7 separate regions of the Homo sapiens genome follow, and all the other regions are linked to region 1. Evidence: promoter capture Hi-C in 16 types of primary human blood cells and fetal thymus (Javierre and others, 2016). All regions are on one chromosome and are shown on one strand. The core of a region is centred on a gene start or on the middle of the fragment in contact, and the rest is flanking DNA. Distances in the headings are between cores, read along the strand shown. Region 1 holds the start of MEX3B (mex-3 RNA binding family member B). Region 2 holds the start of RAMAC (RNA guanine-7 methyltransferase activating subunit). Region 3 overlaps IL16 (interleukin 16). Region 4 overlaps TMC3-AS1 (TMC3 antisense RNA 1). Region 5 overlaps TMC3-AS1 (TMC3 antisense RNA 1). Region 6 has its middle 84 kb from the start of TMC3. Region 7 has its middle 100 kb from the start of TMC3.

The links. Contacts are between HindIII fragments. The CHiCAGO score rates a contact against its expected background, and 5 or more counts as called.
Region 2: the fragment with the promoter of RAMAC here is called in contact with the fragment with the promoter of MEX3B in region 1 in 1 of 17 cell types (activated CD4 T cells); the score reaches 6.4 in activated CD4 T cells.
Region 3: a fragment that was not itself captured here is called in contact with the fragment with the promoter of MEX3B in region 1 in 1 of 17 cell types (fetal thymus); the score reaches 5.1 in fetal thymus.
Region 4: a contact is called between a fragment that was not itself captured here and the fragment with the promoter of MEX3B in region 1, in 6 of 17 cell types (fetal thymus, megakaryocytes, M1 macrophages and 3 more). The highest score is 13.2, in fetal thymus.
Region 5: a fragment that was not itself captured here is called in contact with the fragment with the promoter of MEX3B in region 1 in 3 of 17 cell types (fetal thymus, megakaryocytes and M2 macrophages); the score reaches 8.7 in fetal thymus.
Region 6: a fragment that was not itself captured here is called in contact with the fragment with the promoter of MEX3B in region 1 in 1 of 17 cell types (megakaryocytes); the score reaches 7.3 in megakaryocytes.
Region 7: a fragment that was not itself captured here is called in contact with the fragment with the promoter of MEX3B in region 1 in 9 of 17 cell types (megakaryocytes, M2 macrophages, M1 macrophages and 6 more); the score reaches 14.8 in megakaryocytes.

The regions. Positions count from the first base shown.
Region 1 is chr15:82,044,374-82,047,409 of GRCh38, forward strand. MEX3B (mex-3 RNA binding family member B) reads right to left here and starts at 1,645. Exons shown (of 2, transcript NM_032246.6): 1 at 1,077-1,645; 2 at 1-240. The coding sequence starts at 1,332. RefSeq lists silencers at 1,425-1,724, 2,575-2,894 and an enhancer at 1,948-2,894. The HindIII fragment of the contact is 3,768 bases long and covers 1-2,220 here.
Region 2 is chr15:82,984,692-82,987,727 of GRCh38, forward strand. It overlaps RAMAC (RNA guanine-7 methyltransferase activating subunit), which reads left to right and starts at 1,519. Exons shown (of 4, transcript NM_031452.4): 1 at 1,519-1,678; 2 at 2,645-2,693. It also overlaps a transcript of HOMER2 not described here. The HindIII fragment of the contact is 1,767 bases long and covers 935-2,701 here.
Region 3 is chr15:81,261,939-81,264,974 of GRCh38, forward strand. The region is part of intron 3 of IL16 (interleukin 16); the gene reads left to right. Among named protein-coding and RNA genes, the nearest start is that of STARD5, 61 kb to the right of the region's middle. The HindIII fragment of the contact is 1,842 bases long and covers 705-2,546 here.
Region 4 is chr15:81,403,882-81,406,917 of GRCh38, forward strand. The region is part of intron 6 of TMC3-AS1 (TMC3 antisense RNA 1); the gene reads left to right. Among named protein-coding and RNA genes, the nearest start is that of TMC3, 31 kb to the left of the region's middle. The HindIII fragment of the contact is 1,860 bases long and covers 530-2,389 here.
Region 5 is chr15:81,422,114-81,425,149 of GRCh38, forward strand. The region is part of intron 6 of TMC3-AS1 (TMC3 antisense RNA 1); the gene reads left to right. Among named protein-coding and RNA genes, the nearest start is that of TMC3, 49 kb to the left of the region's middle. The HindIII fragment of the contact is 2,911 bases long and covers 1-2,890 here.
Region 6 is chr15:81,456,478-81,459,513 of GRCh38, forward strand. No RefSeq gene overlaps it. Among named protein-coding and RNA genes, the nearest start is that of TMC3, 84 kb to the left of the region's middle. The HindIII fragment of the contact is 1,480 bases long and covers 770-2,249 here.
Region 7 is chr15:81,475,056-81,478,091 of GRCh38, forward strand. No RefSeq gene overlaps it. Among named protein-coding and RNA genes, the nearest start is that of TMC3, 100 kb to the left of the region's middle. The HindIII fragment of the contact is 2,319 bases long and covers 349-2,667 here.

The DNA of each region.
Region 1 (3,036 bases), core at 395-2,894:
GCACTTGGATGGTGGTCTGCCCGGGCAGGTTGGGCGGCCCAGGCACCGCGCCGTTGAGTGCCGTGTTCTTATTCCGGGAGGCGCGGATCATGGAGAAGTGCTCGGCAGCAGAGATGATCTCCCTCCGAGCCATGGCCACATCCTCCTTCCTGCCCGTCACAACAAAGACAGGCTCCTCCCCGCGAACTGGGGTCTTGATGTAAGTATTGGTCTTCGCCCGCAGCGCTTTGATTTTACAACCTACGAACCAGGGTGCGGAGGAGGGAGTGGGAGAGAGAGACAGACACGCCCATTATCCTGGGGTAACCGCGGGGACCGGGGACAGCCCGCGTCCAGGACAGCGAGACGGCAGGACAAGAGATGGGCGGAAAGGGGGCGTCTCCCTCACTGACCTCGGGCCGCGCCACGGGCTGGGCAGCGGATCCCACCCGCGAGGCGCTCGAGGAACAGCCCATTGGCTGCCTGGCCCTCCCCCAGTGACTGCAGTCGTCCCGAACCAAACCCGAGAATCCCAGAAAAGTCATCTGGGGAGATGCCGCTGGGATCCAGCTGGGCGCGCCGTCAGCTCTGAAGACACGGGGAAGGGGCTCGGGGAAGGCAGCTGAAGTCGCGATGCCTCAGCGCTGGTCGACTGGGGGTAGGGGGTGGGGTGTGAGTCCCGGGACCCATTGTTCCTCCTCTGGGCTCCATTCCGCTTTGCAGAAATCCAGAATCCTCCTCCCATCCTATGCTCACTCCTCCTCCTTCCTCCTCCCAAAGGACTGATCAAAGGCCCCCTCCCCCAAGCATCTTACATTTAAATTGTCTTTCTGGAGGTGGGCTGGTTGGGGGGCGTTAGGGGAGAAGGCAGTGATTTTAGCAGAAGAAAGTGCATCCCGCCAGGGCAGCGGCGCGGCTCCGGGAGACAGCCTGCCTGCACTTTCTTTGTCTGGGGCGCCGGCCCATCGCGCGGCTCTTCCTCTCTCCCCAAGGCACCCCACGCCGCGGATCCCGATACTGAACACGCCTTCCCCTCGAGGCAGTGGCCTGAGACCCTACACCACCCCCACCCACCTCCCCATCCCTCCTCGACCTACCTTGCCGCCCCACGATCTCGGCGACATGCTCAGAACTGGGTACTGGCACGCACTCGGTCATGTTCACGCTCTTCTTGCGCGGCTCGCTGTCGTACAGAGAGGCGCCCTCGTCACTGTCCAGCCCCAGCAGGGAGAGCTGGTCGAGCGCGAGCTGCAGGGCTCTTTGGTCATCCAGGGTCTCTCCCCCTCCGCTGCTGCCGCCGCCGCCGCCGCCGCTGCCGTTGCGCTCCAGGTCTGCGAACAGCGAGCTGGGCATCGCTCGGCCGTGCGCGCCGCGCCCCCGCCGGCCCTCGGCTCGGCGGCGAGAAGCTGCGGCCACAAAGGCAGCCGGGAAGCGGGTGGTCAGGGGCGGGGAGGCCGGTCGCCTGCTGAGGGCTCCGTTGCTTCTTCCTCGGTGCTGGGAGGAGTGGGTCGCTCCGTGCGGTCCGCACCGGGCAGTGGCTGCAGGAGCCCCCACCTGGGTCCCCACCCCAGACCTGCTGGCGGGTGGGGTGGGGGCAGAGCTCTAGCGGTGGCCGCGCGTGCCCCCCGAGTGCCCGGCTGGCTGGCCGCAATGCCGAGCGAAAAGCGAGCAGGCGAGCGACAGAAGCGTTTCTTTAAGGAGCCCCTCCCCGGCTCCTCCACTCCCTCCCTCCCGCCCGCCCGCCCGCCCTCACTCAGCGCTTTTTCCTCCTCTCCTCCCCGCCTCTTGACTGAGCCTCTGCAGCCAGACGACTCCGGAGGGGGACGAGGGAGGCGCAACGTCACAGGCGGGAGCTGACACCACAATGCTACTGACACTATCGCTGGGGGAGGCGATTGGCGCGCGCCAGGCCGGGGGCGGGAGGAGGCCGCGGGTTGAGCGAGCGGAGAGAGAGCGCCACCCCCCACCCCCGCGCTCGCCGCAGCCCGCCCCGTCCTCCTCCCGGCCGCGCCCCTCCCCCGCCGCCGCTAACGCCTCTCTTTGTTGTCTAATGCGGGACTGGCAGGCTCGGGACACTTGGATGTACCTATCAGCCGAGGACAATCATTGTCCCTAAGTCTCCTCCCTCGCCTGACTGAGAAAAGAAAACGCGCCCAACTCTGATGCCTGGAGCCGGGCTCTAAAAGAGCGGTCCTCAGGAAGTCCCGTTAGTGGCTCCAAATAAACCATCCGTGGAGCCAAAGCTTCCTCTGTGAGAAGAGTCTGTAGTCCGCCCAAAAGGGCGACCCGAGCCCTCCGACACGGAAAACGGGACTCCAGGTCTTGGGGCGCACGGGCAGAGTGACTCCCGGCGCGGGTTGTCCACCTGCGCGGGAGCGCACGAGACACAAAAGCACACGCCCGCCCACACTGGCAACCGCGCGCGCGCGCGCCCGCGCCTGCATTTCTGTCTCCTTGGGCAGCACTTCGCCCAACTGGCCCTGAAACTGAGGATGGGAAAGCTAAAAGCTGGCTGCCGCGCGAGCTCGGCCCGCCCGGCCGCTGGCGACCTCTGGAATGCATGGCACCAGTGTCCAGCACACGCCCGGCGCCCGGGCCGAGACCCTGCGGGTTCTGACACGCGCACGAGCGCCGCGCCGCCACCGCGGGGACGCAGGCCACAGCGCCAGCGGGCGGCGCGGGCGTGCGCGCCCGCTGTTCCCATCCCTCCCCTCCGTGCCCCGCGGCCGAGCATGCGCAGTGCGCGCGAGGAGCGGGCGGGCCCTTTAAGGCGGGCGCTGCGGAGCGCGCGCCGGCCCCGCCCGCGGCCCCGCCCCGACGGGAGGTGAGCGCTCCCTGCCCGGCCGCTCTTTGTGCGCTTCTCGGGGTGGGGGTGGCGGCAGAGGGAGGTTGCGACGGCACTTGCCGGCGAGGACGGCGAGCTGCGCCCCCTCCCGGATCTCCCAGGGACCGTCTCCGAGTGCGAGAGAGAAGGAAGGAGGATTTGAGGGGCGGGCCGGGGCGGTGCGCGCTGGTCCTCTCCGCGCGCATCCCCCTCCGCCGCCCACTAGGGCGGAC
Region 2 (3,036 bases), core at 269-2,768, 940 kb after region 1:
CTGTAGTCCCAGCTCTCCGGAGGCTGAGCTGAGAGGATCGCCTGAGCCCAGGAAGTCGAGGCTGCAGTATGCCATGACCACGTCACTGCACTCCAGCCTGGGCAACAGAATGAGACCCTGTGTCAAAGAAACAAACAAACAAACAAACAAAAAAAGCACAATGTTATACACTCCAGAATGTAGAAATGCATTAGATAAAGGCCTGTTTACAGTTTAATAGGGGGAAAGACTTGCAAGTAAATAATTTTAGTTCGAAGTTAGAAAGTGGTAATAACTAAATACATGAAATTCCAGAAATATGATGGACTCTCAATAGAAAGAAAAATTATTTCTAGGTAGAGATGTCACTTTCTAAAGCTTTAAATAATGGAAAGAATTTCAACATTTGGAGATGAGGGGGAGAGACAGGTATTTCATGCAAGGGACATGAGCAATCTATAAAAATGTAATAATTTATGCATGACGTACTTCACAGGGTCTGGTTTACCACTGACTGAGGGAGAATGGAAGGGGAACAGCAGAAAATAAAAAAAGTTTTGAATCCAAGTTAATAAACTTGACCTTTAATCTACAGGCAACAGAGAGCCATTGGATCAGCTATTTTGGATCACGGTGGTGCTTGAAGATGGCTACACCTATAGCAGGTATATGTAAGATAGGCTAGTAGCAGAGTGATGCTAGAGGCAGGACATCAATGAGAAAGGTACTGCACTGACACCGTGCAGGGGATGGTAATGAGAACGTTGATTAGGTGGGGGCAGTGGGTAAGAAGATGCAAGAATTACTGTAGGGGTACAATCGACAGGACTTGGCAAGTGATTGGAGCATGGAAAGGCAAGAAAGGGCATCAAATCTGACATCAAAGTTTCCAAGTTGGTTGTATTAACAAAAACGGGTGCATAGCCTGGGAAGTAATTTGGGAGGGAAGAGGCCAAGCTTTGTCGGGATATTAAGTGTTTATACATTTGCTGAACATCCCACAAGACATGGGCAAGACTCTTGGAAGTAGCTGGATACTGACGACTGAAGCTGGAGCAGAGAGGGGGTATGTTTCTGCAAAACCACATACAAAACGGACTACGGAAATCTTACTACCGAGGCTTGCCCAGGCAGGAGAGAAAGGTGTAGCATCCCTGAAGTCATCAGTCGTGTCTACTCTTCACCGCCTGCTCTCACCTCACGTTCCCCACGAAGACTCCGGGAGCAGGCGGCCGGAAGGAGCCCTTCCCTCCCTTCTCCGGTGATTCCCAGAACTTCCGTCTCTACCCGTCACCTGCTCCCAATCAAAGGAGCTTAATAGACGGCGACGTTTTCGACTGCCCAGCCACCAGGCAGGCTGAAAGTGCATGGAGGGCATCATCCACCTTTAGACAGCTACTTGCCCACACCTCATCGAGCTCTGGGCGTTGTGCCAGCATTTGAAGAAGCGATCTGTTGCAAAGCGATCCACACGGAGAGCCTTAGTTATCGCGAGACTTGACAGGCACCCTCAACTTTAGCCCGCCGGAAGCGGAAGTCAGGTGGTTGTCGGATTTTAGAGGAAGGCGCTCGGTTACATTGGAGAACTGGAGTGGTCTGGAGTTCCACGGTGTAGTGGACCAGAGGCCACCTCTCCTGGGCTTCTCAGTGTCTCGCCGGCGGGGTTCGGCCTGAGCTGGATTGACATAGCCCTTGGCGGGTGAGTCGCCCCGGACGCCCGGGAGGAGGGAGCGGGGCGGCCGAGCTGGGTGGCCAGCGAGGTGTCCTCCCCCTGTGCGGTGATCTGTACTCTTTGCTAGACCGAAGCCCGTTTACTTCTCACGGCCCATAATTTCCCTCACTTCTGGAGGTATAAGGTGCTTCGGAAGGGAGCAAATCTGCCAGAACCTTGGTAAGCAAGCTGTGATGTGCCTTGAGGACGGACTGGAAAACGCAGTTGTTTTCAGTCTGCATCTTCGTCTGTTCCCCGGGCTCACCTCCCAGGGCAGCGAAACCCCATTCTGGTTGGTTATTTCCAGGGTTAGTCGCCCGCAGCCAAAGTTCTTTGTGGTTTTATTTGTGGTGAATAAATTAGCAGTATTCAAGTACAAATCTGAAAGGCTTACCCTAAAAGAACATACATACTTTATGAAGTTTGTATTCATACTTGAACTATTTTGCTTTTGAAGGCCCAGAGGACAAATCTTGTAGCTTCTTGCTCTTGAGAACCAGTTCCCTCTTTGGAATATTAGCTTTGGAAGTCTTTAGAGCGTTTTTTTGGTTTGTTTTTTGTTTTTTTTTTGAGACGGAGTCTCGCTCTGTCGCCCAGGCTGGAGTGCAGTGGCGCGATCTCCGCCTCCCAAGTTCAAGCGATTCTCCTGCCTCAGCCTCCCGAGTAGCTGGGACTACAGGCACATGCCACCACGCCTGGCTAATTTTTTCTATTTTTAGGAGAGACGAGGTTTCACCGTGTTAGCCAGGCTGGTCTCGATCTCTTGACTTCGTGATCTGCCCGCCTCGGCCTCCCAAAGTGTTGGGATTACAGAGGTGAGCCACCGCGCCTGGCCTTAGAGCACTTTTACTCCAATTCTTTCCTTGAATAAGACTCTTATGCGCCACCCTCCCCTACAAACACCTTTTGAGAGTTTCCTTAAATAAAGTCAAGTTTGTTTTTTTCCTCCCACAGATTTAAACAACCTAAACATTAAGCAGTACAGCTGCCTCAAACCTTTGGGGTAAGTAAAGCTTGGGTCGATTAACATTCTATTTAAATTTCGTTCTCAGTAATAATACAGTTGATATTTGTTTACATGAGTATGGGTGGGGAGTCGTGGGAGAACATATGAGAACATAAAAATGGAGTAGCACCTTTTCCTTGCCTTATGATTTTTACTGCCCATCTGGATTAGGTATGGGTCATCTTTTTAGTGATTTCTGTGATCCCACTAGAATTCTAGACATGATTTTTAATTAGCTGAATTTATTTAAAACTCATTCCTTGGATTTGAGAATTTGATATAGTTTGCCAATCCCAGACACATTGAAAGTCTGATATTTGGTATTTGATAAAGCATACTA
Region 3 (3,036 bases), core at 376-2,875, 780 kb before region 1:
GCATGATGGCTCGTACCTGAGGTCCCAGCTGGTAGGAGGATCCCTTGAGCCTGGGAGGTTGAGGCTGCAGTAAGCCATGATTGTGCCACTGCACTCTGGTCTGGGCAACAGAGTGAGAGCCTGTCCTGCCCCCCCGAAAAGAGGTGAAGTTAAACATTCATACAGGTGAAGTTAAACATTCCTTCATTTATTTATTTTGTTTTTGGTGAGTTTGCCTATTCTTTACTGAAATAATCATCTTTTTATCATTAATTTATAAAAAGCCTCTTGGTTAAATTAATATTTGACGTCATACTTGTTGAAAATACTTTCTCCAGTTCGTTGCTTTTATTTTAATTTTTTAACATTAAGGTGTTTTAATCTTTATGTAATCAAGTTTACTGATCTTTTCTTTTTTAATGTGAAAGTTACTTCCACATTCAGATAACTATTAAGTCTGTGACTATATATACTTCTAATTTGTAAATGATTTATCTTTTTTCCCTCAAATTTACTGTATTATCTGTAGTTTATTTTTGGTGTTTGATATGATGTAAGAATCTAGGTAGATTTTTTTTTTCTAAATGAATAGAGAATTATTCTAGCATCACTTATTTACAATCAGTTCCTTTTATTTTGCGTTTTTTGTTTGTTTTGTTAATCTCATGCAAACGATATGCAGTTAGGTCCCTGAAAGCAAATTTGGCAATTTTTTTAAGAAGAGAAGCTTAAGGCCGGGCGCAGTGGCTCACGCCTGTAATCCCAGCACTTTGGGAGGCCGAGGTGGGTGGATCACCTGAGGTCAGGAGTTCGAGACCAGCCTGACCAACATAGAGAAACCCTGTCTCTACTAAAAATACAAAATTAGCCGGGAGTGGTGGCACACGCCTGTAATCCCAGCTACTCAGGAGGCTGAGGCAGGAGAATCACTTAAACCTGGGAGGCAGAGGTTGTGGTGAGCCGAGATTGTGCCACTGCACTCTAGCCTGGGCAACAAGAGTGAAACTCCATTTTAAAAAAAGAAAAGAAGCTCAGATAGTTGAAATCAGTGTTATAGATCATATTTATTTTTACTTAGCTCTTTTTATGCTTTTTATTTTGATGATTCCTTGCCATTTGTTTGTTCTTGGCCTCTTGCTATAATGATTGTGAAAGGTTTATTTAATTATTGTCTCTACTTCTGATTTCCTTAAGTTTTAATTAATTACCCAATTAAGTTTAATCAATTAATTAATATCTGACATAACATTTTCCAAATTGTCCCCCTCATGAAAGATGAAGAAGTTAGCTTGGTGTTATTCATCCCTTTTCCATGGATTTTTCCATTTTGTAATTCAACATAACTTTATAAACTCATGACAATATGTAGCTCTAATATAGCTTTTTTGTATATAATCATGACAATATATAGCTCCCCTTTCAAAAACTATTTTTTTTTGTTTTTTTTTTTTTTGCATTGGGTTGTAATAACCAGCTTTCAGTTAACTCACTTAATACTCTACACTTAACTGGTTTAAACTTCCCCCAATGGAGATGATAATTTTGGTACATTTCCTAGTTGGCTGGAGTGCGTCAACAAGCAATGTTCTGAAACAGTGGGCCGAAGTGGGCACAGAAATCGACCCCAGACCAGGGAGAGTTTTGGAGAACCCACTCTGTCCTGACTCTGGTCTGCGTCCCCACAGATCTGAATGTCTAGTGGGAACTGGAACCCCCACACAAGTGGAGCTGGGTGTGGCCTGAGCAGTTGCACTGGGCTCTCCTGTGGCTCTGAGGTCAGGTTGATCTGCTCTGTGAACCATTCCAAGTTGGCAGCCTGTTTGTTCATCCTCATTCCCTCTGAACCCAAAGCATGCACCACTGGCCACCTTCAAGTCACAGGTCACCCTTGCACTGCTGTGGATGGAGAGAATGCAGGGAGACTGGGATTCTGGAGGCTGAGGTCATGCCTCAGACTGTTTCTTCACTGATCCGGAACCCTCTGGGCTTCCATTTCCTCACTGATAGAGGAAGGAGTAACTCCAGCAGGGTTCCCAAAGGACAAATGACGAGCCACCTGCATCATCTGCACAGGCTGACAAACATACAGGTTTCCCCAGACCCGAAACGTGCAGATATGGATCAATAGGTTGGGTGGAGCACTGAAATCTACCTTTCTATTAAACACTCCGGATAAATATAATGCACAGGCAGAGTTAGCACTAGAGGATGTCTAGCCTCTCCTCTCACCCCCCTTTCTTGATTCTGTGTCCTCTCTTTGCAGCGTGTGGTTTTCTGAATCTTCTGGCTTCCTCTCCCTCCTGGTCCATCTGGGAGCAGTTGGTCCCTGTAACTCAGAGAGGGCCACCTACTTGCGCTGAAGCAGCTGCTGGGAGCAGCTGTTCTTGCAGGGGCAGGTTTCCCCAGCCACTCTCTGGGCCCCGATGGACCAAAACCTCTCCCTTCTTCACCTTGTCTTTGTTCCTTTCCTCATCCCCTTTTAGGGATCTCACACCCTCAGAGATACCACTCCTCTTTTCTTCTCAAGCTACCCTGGCCAGTGGCTTCCTCTCTTCAGCCTATAAATAAGCTTAAGTCTTTCCCATCCTGAAAATAAAAGCAAACCCAACCCTGCTCCATCCTGTGTTTCCTTTGAACTACCACCAATCTTACCTTTTCCTCTAGGGGAATTTTTCACAAAAGCCTGTCCATTCACTCGAGCCTCACTTGGCCCTCAGGATACTAGGCAAACCCTGCCCCTCTCCTGGCCTCTAGAACGGAACTGCCCAACACATTAGCCACATGTAGTCTTGAGCACTTGAAATGTGACTTATTCAAACAGAATGTGCAGAAAGTATCAAAGACCCACTGGATTCAAAGACTAAGTGCAAGAAGAAAAGGATGTAAAATATCTCACTAATAATTTTACATATTATTTATATGTTGAAAGAACAATAGATATAACAGACCAAATAAAATATATTATTAAAATTAATCTCTCCTGTTTCTTTTCACTTTTTAAATGTGGCTACTAGAAAATTTTTTAATTACATAGGTGGCTGGCATTATATTTCATTT
Region 4 (3,036 bases), core at 210-2,709, 640 kb before region 1:
GTGAGCCAAGATCGCACCACTGCACTCTAGCCTGGGCAACAGAGAGAAACTCCGTCTCAAAACAAAACAAAACAAAACAAAACAAAAACAATAAGACGTGAAGTGTTATAATACCAATTTACAAGAAAGCATATCAAAAATGACTCATTGAAGCAGGTGGTTAGTGATTAAAAATTTAATGAATATACTACAAATCAGAAAAATACACTAGATGTAAATAATAAATAGAGCACCTGTGAAGACAGAGGTTGATCTGTATATGCTGAGAGAAATGAAGATACAAGAGAAATGATGTCACCAGCTGAAATGCTGTCACATTGTTGTCTTCATTCTTTTAGAAGAACTAAAGAAATAAAAGAATGAGCATCTGAAAATTAGATTGTATTGATAAACATTGATCCATTCACCCACCAGTCCCATTGTGTTCTGTTACAAAGTTTTTCAAAATGGCATTGTGAAATCTTTCAAGGGTTTGTGAAAAATAAGGTATAGCATCTCTTTGGTGAGCCAAATGAGTTTTTCTAAAATAAGCTTGGTAATTTTCACCCTAAAGTTGATGTATTTTAGTGTAAAAAATGAAGAGGTAGTGAAGTGTAATGGAGGGTGGGAGCCAGGCTCCTCACTGTTGGAGTGGGAAGTTACAGACGAGCAAAGGGAGGAGGCTAGAATAATCCATGGGTAATTGATTAGAGTGGGAGACATCTGTATAAACTCATATTTAGCTTAATATATAAATAGTACATGAATATTTATAGATGTATCTGTACATGGGTTATATAGATACGTGTATACATGTATTTCTCTATTTTGTCAGCTGAGAGGAACTAGAGGTAATAAATGACACCCAAGTAGTAGCAAGTAAAGTTAGAACTCAGATCCTGGTTTCTAATACCATTCTCTGATAGAAGGAATGAGGGCTCCTTGGAGCAATGGATGATTCTAAGGATGGAGGAGAAACATCTTGCAATGCTAGTAATAAGGAAATGCACAGAAAAACTGACACTGATGGGCCTATGCCAAGGATACAGGAACTGACAGAAAGCTCCCAATGGCCAAAGGCAGAACAAGCTGTGCAACAAAATAAACAAAGTGGTACTGAATTATAACCCAATATATAAAATAAATATTGATGGGTCTACACTGATATAAACAAAATGACTGCATAAATAAATAAATGGAGAAGAATAGCCAAATCTCCAGTGCAGAAGAATTTCAAATAATTTATGCAGATACTGTGAGGGTTAATTTTGTGTGCTAACTTGGAGGATGTTTTCAGATGTGATTAGCATTTAAATGGGTGCACTTTGAGTAAAGCAGATTGTCCTCCATTATATGGGTGGGTCTCATCCAATTAGTCGAACCATGAATCAAACCAAAAGACTGCCCTCCCCAAGCAGGAAGGAATTCTTCAGTGGACTGCCTTTGGACTTCATCTATATTCTTGGCTTACCTGAGTCTTGAGCCTGACAACCCACACTGCAGATTTTTGACTTCCTGGCCTCCAGAATTGCATGAGCCAATTCCTTATAATAAATCCTTCTCTCCACATATACACACACATACATCCTATTGGTTCCGATTCTCTATAGAACCCTGACTAATACAGATAATTTGCATTCAAGAAAAGTGAGCATGATTCGCATTCCTTACGTGTGGGCTGCATATACTGACTTCCTTCCAAAGAGTACAGTGTGGAAAATAGAGGGAGAAGAGTAACTTTACAGTGGAGAAGACTGGCAAACTACCTCAGCCAGGTGACCAAGGTCAACATCAACAATGACCAGTCATGTTGATGGTATGTATCCTTGATATCATGAAAATGGCACTGTACCTGTGATCCTCCTCTCCTACCCCATAATCCCAGTCTAATGAGAAAAACATTAGACAAATACAAATTGATGAATATTCTACAAAAATACCTGACCAACACTCCTCAAAAGTGTCAAGGTAATCAAAACCGAGGAAACTCAGAGACTTTCAAGGCCAAGAGGAGTCGAAGGAAACAGGACAATTAAATGTAGTATGGTATCCTGAATAAGATCTTGGGAGAGAAAAAGGACATTAGGTATAAACTAAAGCAATCTAAATGAAGTATGGACTTTGGTTAATGACAATGTATCTATATTGGTTCATTAATTGTGACAAATATACCATATTAATATAAGATGTTACTAACAGAGGAAACTGTGTGGGGTACACAGGATCTCTCTGTACTAGTTCCTTAATTTTTCTGTAAATGTAAATCTACTCCAAAATAAAAAGTTTGTTTAAAAAAAAAGAAAAAGGAGGAGGAGGAGGATGAAAAGATGGAAAAAATAAACTAGGGAGGCACCTTTTAGAGTTCTACTTCTCACAGCAAAAAGAACTACAAGTTATTCCACTACCAAGAAGCTTGCAGGGTTAGCCACAAAACCAATGATAAGTATTGTACCTGGGAAAATAATCAATTAATCTTTGCAATTCTAGTCAGATCATACTGTTGGACACCACATCATAGCAATGGCACATGATAGATTACAACAAATGCTATTGTTTAAAAATTATCCAAAATGTAGAAATAAAGCAAAAGAAGATTGCTCGTGCTTTCAATATCATATACCAGACCAGCATCTATCAGGCCCATCAAGCATTATTTCATTTTTTAAAAGATGGACTCTTGTTGATTAACTACTTTCTGTTAATTAAAGCCAAGACTCTGAAGTCACGTGTTAACTTGTAGATTTTTGTCTAATGGAGATGCAAAACATTAACTAGTTATATCTCTGACTTAGCAAATTTATTTTGGTATTCCTTTCCTAATAGACTGTGTAATCTTTTTTTTCTCTAATTTTTCTTTCAATCATTCTGTGCACGTTGCTGGTTTCCTCATCAATAAATCAACAGCTCATTGACACACATTTGCTTTATATTTGTATGAGTGTAATGTTTTTAACTTTTTTTTAAAAAATATGCTTTTATCGTGCATGTTCAAGGAGCTATTTTGTGTTGCAATTAGATGACATAGATCACTGGTATTTGATCATGCATGTTTGCAGT
Region 5 (3,036 bases), core at 185-2,684, 620 kb before region 1:
ATTGTCGTCCTTGTAAAATCACGAGTGTGTTGAGTTTAAGCAAAATATAATTAGGCCTGGAAATCAAATTAAAATATGGAAGACACTCTTTCTGCCCTAAGACTTTTCCCTCTATGCAAAGGAGACAGAAAAGTTCTATAATTTATGAGAATGCTGATTAAATTACCCTTCAGCAACCATCTTTTCATAGTATTATTTTTCCTTCAAAGCCACCCAAGAGCCATAAGAGATATAATGATTGTGCAAGAAAAGTTTTTCATTAAGGACTTTAATAAAATTAAATTAAATAAAATTTGAGAATCAATACAATGATGATAGGAATCTGTGGACATGATTATTTTTGGAAAAAACTTGCTGATCTCATATGCACGAATCTTTAAGTCAGACTTTGCACCCAGAATGGGTTGAAAATTTGGTCTCCATTTTGAGTTTGGGCACCAATTAATCATCTGTACATGTGCTTTTGTGCTTGGCTAAATACGATCAGCTCACAGAAGTTTGTTAGTGCATATTTGGTTTCATTCATTTCCCACATTTTGAGAAAAGGGTGCCTTGGTTTGGTGAGATAACAGAAGAGAGAATGGTAAAAACAAGTGTGTTCGATCTCCCTGAAATGATGCTCTGCTGTTCTTCAGGCTCTGTGACCTAGAAGGCTCCTCTTCTGTCTTTTTCCTCCTGGAATGTGAGAAAATCTGGCAAAGTGGGAGCCAGAGAGGCTAGGCCACTAAAAGCCTGTGTGCGAAATGATCTGTACACAGCGAATTGACTCCACCTTTCACACATTACTACTTAAATCATGAAAGGAGCATTGCAAGGAGGAAGTATTTTAACAGCAGAAGAAAACATGCCTCCAATGTCAAGAAATTTCAGCACAATTTTGTGCAGCCAGGACCAGATGAAGGGAAAGGCCAAGCAATATGTTTTGAGGACTGAATATCTATGCTTCCCCAAATTCATATGTTGAAATCCTAACTTCCGATGTGAAGATATTTGTAGGTGGGGCTTTAAGAGATAATTAGGTCACAAGGGCAGAGCCCCCATGAGTGGGATTAGTGCTCTTAGAAAAGGGACCCAAGAGGGCTGTCTCTCTTGCCCTCTTTCCGCCATATGAGAATCCAATGAGATGGCATCATCTGCAAATCAGGAAGAGGATGCTCACCAGACACCAGATCTGCCAGCACCTTGATCTTGGACTCCTCAGCCTCTAGAACTGTAAGAAATAACGTTTGTTGTTTAAGCAACCCAGTCTATGGCAACTTGTTATAGCAGCCTGAACTAAGATAATCTATAAGGTAAGGCAAATAAGAAAAAAATCCAAACCCAAAATGACTTTAAGCGACTCCTAGAGGAACCCTGCCAACATCACTAAGTTCAGAGAGGTAAAATCAGGCAACAAGCAGAATTATCTTCGGGGGTCCATAAAAATTTCCAGGTCTGGTCGCAACTGTCATATCTTGACACAAAGGGGCACATATTGGATCCCAGAAAGTTCTATGGACTTCTTAGGGCTTGCAAAAGTTGTATAATTTTATTGATTATATAAGTAATACATGTTCATTGTTGAGATTTTGGAAATAATAATCTATCATCTGACCTCTCTGAGAAAACCATTATTAACCTTTTAACTTTCTACTTTCTGTTATTTGCATTCATACATGTTTATCCATTATCCATGTAGCATTTTTTATCATGCTTTTGAACTCCATTTTATTTACATCATGATGACTTGATAGTGACAAAAAAGATTCCAAAATATGATTTTAATGACAGCATAAATGGCTGTACCGTAATATATTTAGTCATTTTCTATCATTGGATATTTACATTATTTCTAATTTCCCTTCATTATCATTATAGTTAATGTTTTTGAACGTAAGTCTAATTCCATATTTGGTTATTTCCTTACAATATTTTCCAAGACATAGAATTGGTGAAGAAAAGGTATATTATGAAAGCTACCAAAAATAAAATTTCAAATTTCCTTTTGATTATATTGATTCATTTACATTCCACTGTTGGGATCTGAGGGGAATCCTTTAACTATCCTTAATAATCTTTATATATATATATATATATATATATATATATATGTATATGTATATGTATGTGTGTGTGTATATATATATATTCAAAAATATTTGTCAATTGGCTAGATGGTTTTCTTATAGAAAAGTTCATTATTGATTTTCGTTAAATTGGACATGTTTTGCATTGCACTGGAGTGGGACATTTATTTGGCTGCTATGGTGAATTTCTGATGCCTATTTTCTTTTTCTTTTTAGTGATAAGGTCTCGCTGTATTGCTCAGGCTGATCTCAAACTCATGGCCTCAATTGATCCTCCCACCTCAGCCTCCCAAGTAGCTGAGATTACAGGCATGAGTCACCACACTCAGTGAATTTCCAATATCTTGTGTCAATTTTTCCGTTATGAGAAGAGGAGTAGGGAGGGCAGGGGTTCTTCTATTTTGCCATAGTATTTATCTCTGGTTCCTCCCTTGACCTCAGACCCGATATTTAATTCATCATCAAATCCTAATCGTTCCATCTCAAAAATAAAAGATACAACCAGAATTCTGCCGATCCTCATCATGCTCGCTGATAAGCCCGGTCACAACTACCATCATCTTCCATCCACACCAACCCAACAGCCTCCTAACCAGCCTATTTGCTTCCACTCCATTCCTTCACCATGTAGCCCTCACAGAGCAACCAGAGTGAGCTTTGAAAAATGAACATTATTCTTTTACTTAAACTTTCAAATGGCCTTTTAATCTCTCCTCATTTTTCTCCTTATCCCCATGACCACTGGTCTTCTTTCTGCATCTTTCAAACGTGCCAAACACTATTCAGTCTCAACACTTTGACATTTGCTGATTCTTTACCCAGAAAGCTTTTCCAGATATTCTCATGAGACCTCCAAGAGACGCTTTGACCATCTGGCCAAATCAGTCCTTCTCCAGCACAATTCAATCACCTCTGTGAAGCATGTTTCAAGTTAAAATTATATACGTGTGTGGCCGTAATCCCAGCACTT
Region 6 (3,036 bases), core at 260-2,759, 590 kb before region 1:
CCACGCATCCCTGGGATAAATTCAACCTGATCATGGTATATTATATTTTAAATGTGCTGTTGGATTTGATTTGCTAGTATTTTGTTAAGGATTTTTGCGTCTATGTTCATCATATATATTAATCTGTAGTTTTCTTTTTTTGTTGTACCTTTGTCCGATTTTGGTATCAGAATGATAATGGCCTTGTAAAATGAGTTAGGGATAACTCCCTTCCACTTGATTTTTTTGGGCTAGTTTCAAGGGGATAAGTATTAGTTCTTGTTTGTGTGTTTGATAGAATTCAGCTGTGAATGCATCGGGTCTCAGGCTTTTACTTATTGGAAGATTTTTTAATTTGTGATTGTGAGAAGTGAAGCCAGCTGGACTTCCTCCGTGGAGTGGGGACTTGGAGAACTTTTCTGTCTTACAAGGGGTTTGTAAAATGCACCAATCAGCACTCTGTAGCTAGCAAGAAGTTTGTAAAATGCACCAATCAGCGCTCTGTAAAAACGCACCAATCAGTGCTCTGTAGCTAGCAAGAGGTTTGTAAAATGCACCAATCAGCACTCTGTAAAATGCACCAATCAGTACTCTGTAAAATGGACCAATCAGCACGCTGTAAAATGCACCAATCAGCAGGAGTCTAAAAGAAGCCAATCGCGGGGAGGATTGAGAAAAGGGCATTCTGATAGGACAGAAACAGGACATGGGAGGGGACAAATAAGGGAATGGAGCTGGCCATCCCAGCCAGCCAGCGGCAAACCACTCAGGTCCGGTTCCATGCTGTGGAAGCTTTGTTCTTTCGCTCTTCACAATAAACCTTGCTACTGCTCTTGGGTCTGTGAGCTGTAACACCGTGAAGGTCTGCCTCCATTCTTGAAGTCAGCCAGATCATGAACCCACTGGAAGGAACCAACTCCAGACACAATTCCATCTTGCTACTGATTTTAGTTTGTTCAGGGGCTGTGTTTTTTCCTCATTCAATCTCAGTAGGTTGTGTGTTTCCATGAGTTTATCTGCTTCCTCTGGGTTTTCTAGTTTGTGAGCCTATAATTGTACATAATAATCTCTGATTATTTTTGTATTTTTATAGTATCGGTTGGGATGTCTCCTTTTTCATATGTGATTTTGTTTGTTTGGATCATCTCTATTCTTGGTTAATCTAGCTAGTGGTTTCTCAATATTGCTTATCTTTTCAAAGAACCAACTTTTTGTTTTGTTCATCCTTTGTATTTTTGAGGGGGTCTCTTTTATTTAGTTACACTCTCATCATTGTTATTTCTTTTCTTTTGCTAACTTTGGGTTTGGTGTGTTCTTTTTAATCTATTTCTTGAGGTGTAATGTTGGGCTGTTAATTTGTAATCTTTCTAATTTTTTGATGTAGGCATCTAATGCTATAAATTTCTCTCTTTGCACTCCCTTGGCTATATCCTACAGGGTTAGGTATGTTGTATTTTCATTTTTATTCATCTCAAAAAAATCTTTAAATTTTCACATTAATTTCTTCATTGACCCAGTCATTGTTCAGGAGCATGCTGTTTAATTTCCAGATATTTGTATAGTTTCTGAAGTTCTTCTTGGCATTGATTACTAGCTTTATTCCACTGTGGTCTGAGAAGTTACTTGATATTATTTCAGTTTTTAAACATTTGTTAAGACCTGCATTGTGGCCTATAAGATGCAGTCTATCTTAGAGAATGTTCAATGTGCTAGTGAAAAGAATATTCTGTAGCTGTTGGGAAGAATGTTCTCTAAATGTCTATTAGGTTCATTTGGTCTAAAGTCCAATTTTCAAAATTAGTTTTCTGTCTTGATGATGTGTCTAGTGCTGTGAATAGGGTGTTTAAGTCACTCACTATCATTGTATTGCTGTTTATCTCATTACTTAGGTCTAATAATATTTGCTTTGTGAATTTGGGTGCTTCAATGTTGGGTGCATATATATTTAGGATTGTTATTTGCTCTTGCTGAATTGATTCCTTTATCATTATATAATGACCTTTTTGTCTGTTTAAAAAAACTGTTTTTGATTTAAAGTCTCTTTTATCTAGTAAGTATAGTGACTCCTGCTCAGTTTTGGTTTTCATTTGCATAGAATATCTTTCTCCACCTCTGAGTTTTTTTTTTTCCATCTATGTGCCTTTAAAGGTAAGGTGAGTTTCTTGTATGTAGCATATAGCTGGATCGTTCAAAAAATTCATTTAGCCAATCTGTATTTTTTTAGTGGAGCATTTAATTCATTTACATTAAAGGTTAATATTAATATGTGAAGCTTTGTTCCTGTCACATTGTTGTTTTCAACTTGGTTTTAAAAATTCTTTGTTTCGTTTTCTTTTTTTGTCTTTGTGGTTTGATGAAACTCTGTTCTGTTGCCATTTGATTCCTTTCTTTTCCTCCTTGTTTTATAAGAACTATGAGTTTTATATTTTCGTGTGTTTTCATGATGGTGAATATCAACCTTTCATTTCCATGTTTATGACCCCTTTGAGCATTTCCTTTAGGGCCAGGCTAGTGATGAGAAATTCCCTCAGTGTTTGCTTGTCAGGAAACAACTGTATTTCTCCTTTATTTATGAAGCTTATTTTGGGAGGATATAAAATCCTTGGCTGGCAGTCCTTTTCTTTCAGTGCTTTGAAAATACTATTGTATTCTCTCCTTACCTGTGAGGTTCTGCTGAAAAGTCCACTGTTAGCCTGATGGGGTGGGGTTTTTTTTTTTTTTTTTTTTGAATAGGTGACTAGACATTTTTCTCTTGCTAATTTTAAAATTACTTATTTTAATTCAACTTTAGACATTCTGAATATAACATGCAGTGGTGAAGTCCTTTTTGTAATATATTTTTCTGGGGATTACTGGGCTTCTTATATGTGGATGTGTGACTATCGATAGACGTGGGATGCTTGCATTGATTATTTCTTTAAATAGGTTTTCTAAGCTCTTTCATCTCTCTTCCTCCTTGGGATACCTATAATTCATAAGTTCAACCACTTTATGTAGTTACAGATGTCTCAAAGTCTTTGTTCATTCTTTTTAATTCTTGTTTATTATTTTTTTCTG
Region 7 (3,036 bases), core at 258-2,757, 570 kb before region 1:
TAGAAATTTCAAATCAATGTTAATAGAAATTTCAAATCATTGTTGGTAATAATAATAGTAACAATGTTAATGGTATTAGTAAATATTACTATTTTTAATGACAAATTAGTAATATTTGTCATTAAAAATATATATCAAAGAAATTAGACATATTAGCTTGCATGTGTATAGGAGCTGGGAATTGGGATGAAAAGTAAGAAAAAAGAGAAATCAGAGTCCCCTTACACAGGCTGGTGATAATAGCGTGTCATGTACTGAAGGGTTTGCTTAACTCAATTCTCTGTACGTTGTATCCAGGCACATCATTGCTAGGGGCTGAACTGTGTCCTCCGAGAATGTATATGTTGAAGCTTTAGCCCCCAGTGACTATATCTGGAGAGAGAGTCTTTAGGATGTAATTAAGGTAAAATGAGATCATAAGGGTGGGGCCCTAATCCAATAGGATCCATGTCCTTACAAGAAGAGGAAGACAGAGATCTCTCAGTCTCTCAGTCTCTTCTCCCATATGAGGACGCAGAGGGAAAGTAACCATCTGCAAGCCAAGAGGAGCCCCCACCAGAACCCGACCATGGTAGCATCCTGACCTCAGACTTCCAGCCTGCAGAACTGGGAGAAAGTACATTTCTGTGGTTTAAGCCACCCAGTCTATGGAGCCACCCAGTCTATGGTATTTTGTTATGGCACCCTGAGCTGACTGAGACAATCAAATCACATTATTCCATGATAAATGTGGTATTTTGGAAATTTGGCTTTTGATAACTAGTGTGTGGACAATTGGCTAAATATTTTTGTAAAAAAAAAAAGGGTACTTCATATCTTACAGCAAATTCCAAATGGATTAAAGATTTAAATGTAAAAAAGATAAGAAAAATTCTAAATAAAATGTTATCACATGGGTTTAGAGTTCATGAAAAGAAAAAAATGCCATGATTACATAGGTTGCATTTTATGAAGACAGGAACATTTAAACATGAAGCCAAAAGAAATAAAAGTCACAGATGAACAGTAATGGAATTAGCCTGATAGACATTACCATCCCACCCCACAAAAAATATTTTGATAAAACTCAGCCATTTATTTTGGTTAAAAGTTCTTGATAAAATAGGAATGAAAGGATGCTTCCTTCATAGCATAAATATCTCAAATCGAGTCAACTTCATGCTTGAAAGTGAACTGTATGAGGAATAGCCACTAAAATTAAGAACAAGTTATAAATATCTCCTGTTACTATTATTACTTAACATGGGTTTGGGATTTTAGTCCCTTGTGATCAGACAAGGGAAATGAACAAGATAAAATATTTAATAGATGAAAAAAAATCACATTTTTTGCAGATGATATCATTTGCATAAAAACTAAAAATAATATAAAGTCAATTATAACTGATGAAAATTTCAATAAAGGGAAAATTATAAAACAAACACAAAAATATAACAAGTACAAAAGAATACATTTTCTATATATCAGTAATATGCGATTGAAAAGTATAATGGAAGAAGGATTCCATTCATATTAGAAGCATAAAAAATCTTGAAACAATATTGACAGAAAATAGGCAGGTCATATATTTTTATGCTCACATATATGTTAACATTTACTGTCAATATTGTTTATATATATATATATATATATATATATATATGAACATTTACTGAGGAGTGGGAAAATCAGAATAAATGGAAATTTTGCTTGAGAAGATAATTTAATGTTCTCAGTCCATCCCAAGTATATCTATAATTTGAACACAGCTTTAAAATTTTTAAATGACTTGTTTTGGAAATTGAAAATAAAGAAAAACAAAACTTTATCTCAAAGAAAAATGATTGAAAATAGTACAAAAGGAAGAGTAATAAATTTGAGTTACAAATAGAAATAGAAGATGAAGTTAAAATAATTTAACCACTATGAAACCAGCACAGAAATAGATAGAATTAAAATCCAGAAAATAGACAAGCACATAATGTAAACCTAGCAGATGAAAAAGGTGTGAGTTCAAATTCCTGAGAAAGAATAAAGATTATTTAGTAAATGCCATTGAATCAATTGGCTTAAACATTTGGGGGAAAAAAGAACATAGAATCTAGCTTATGTGTTATACCAAATTAGATAGTAAATATGCTAAGATTTAACTTTCAAAAATAAAAGTATGAAAGTAGTAGATGAAAATACAGGCTAATTAGGAAAGGTCTATTTATGAATGACATCAAAGGCAGAAATCACAAAGAAAAGTGGTTTAGATTAATTGAACCAAAAATTATTTTGTTATCAAAGCCATCATGAAAAGAATTTAGAGAGAAATAAACTGGCTAAGAGGTTATTGTCTTTAACATGTAAAGGGCTCTTTCAAATCAATAAAAATATAAAAACACAATGGACAAATCGGTAAAGACTTTAAAGAGAAGTTTCTCCAAAGATGAATTCAAATAAACATATAAATATTTGACCTGAACAAAAATTATGGAAACTAAAATATGAAAAATAACATTTGCCCATATCACATGGAAAATAATGTGAATGCCTTCATGGCACTAGGAGAAATGGGCAATCTTATTCACTTTTAGAAGAAATGCAAATAACTCTACACTGTCTGAAACTCAGGTTTTTCAGTGTATCTCAAAAGTCTTAAACGTGTGCATTTTCTTTGATCTAGCAATTCTGCTTCTAGGAAGCTTTCCCAAGGAAATAATTAGGTCAAAAATTAACCGTAAGGCTCTGCTACACAAAGTCTTTCATGCATTGTGAGGGGACAGTAACTGAAAAGCAGAGCAAATTGTTCAATCATAGCAGGTTTGTTAAGTAATTTGTAGTCATTCAATTTATTAAATTATACTTCAGTAAAATAAATTATATAGCAGTCTGTAGAAGATCTCTTCTCATTTAGCAACATTCAGTAGATGTATAACTATTTTAGATTAATGGATATAACTCTAGAAGGGTACGTAGCACAATACCAACACCCAACTTTTTTGTGGTATTAATACTACCTGCTCCTAACCCTACAAAGTAATCCTGATTGTAAGGATTGTAAGCTCAAAC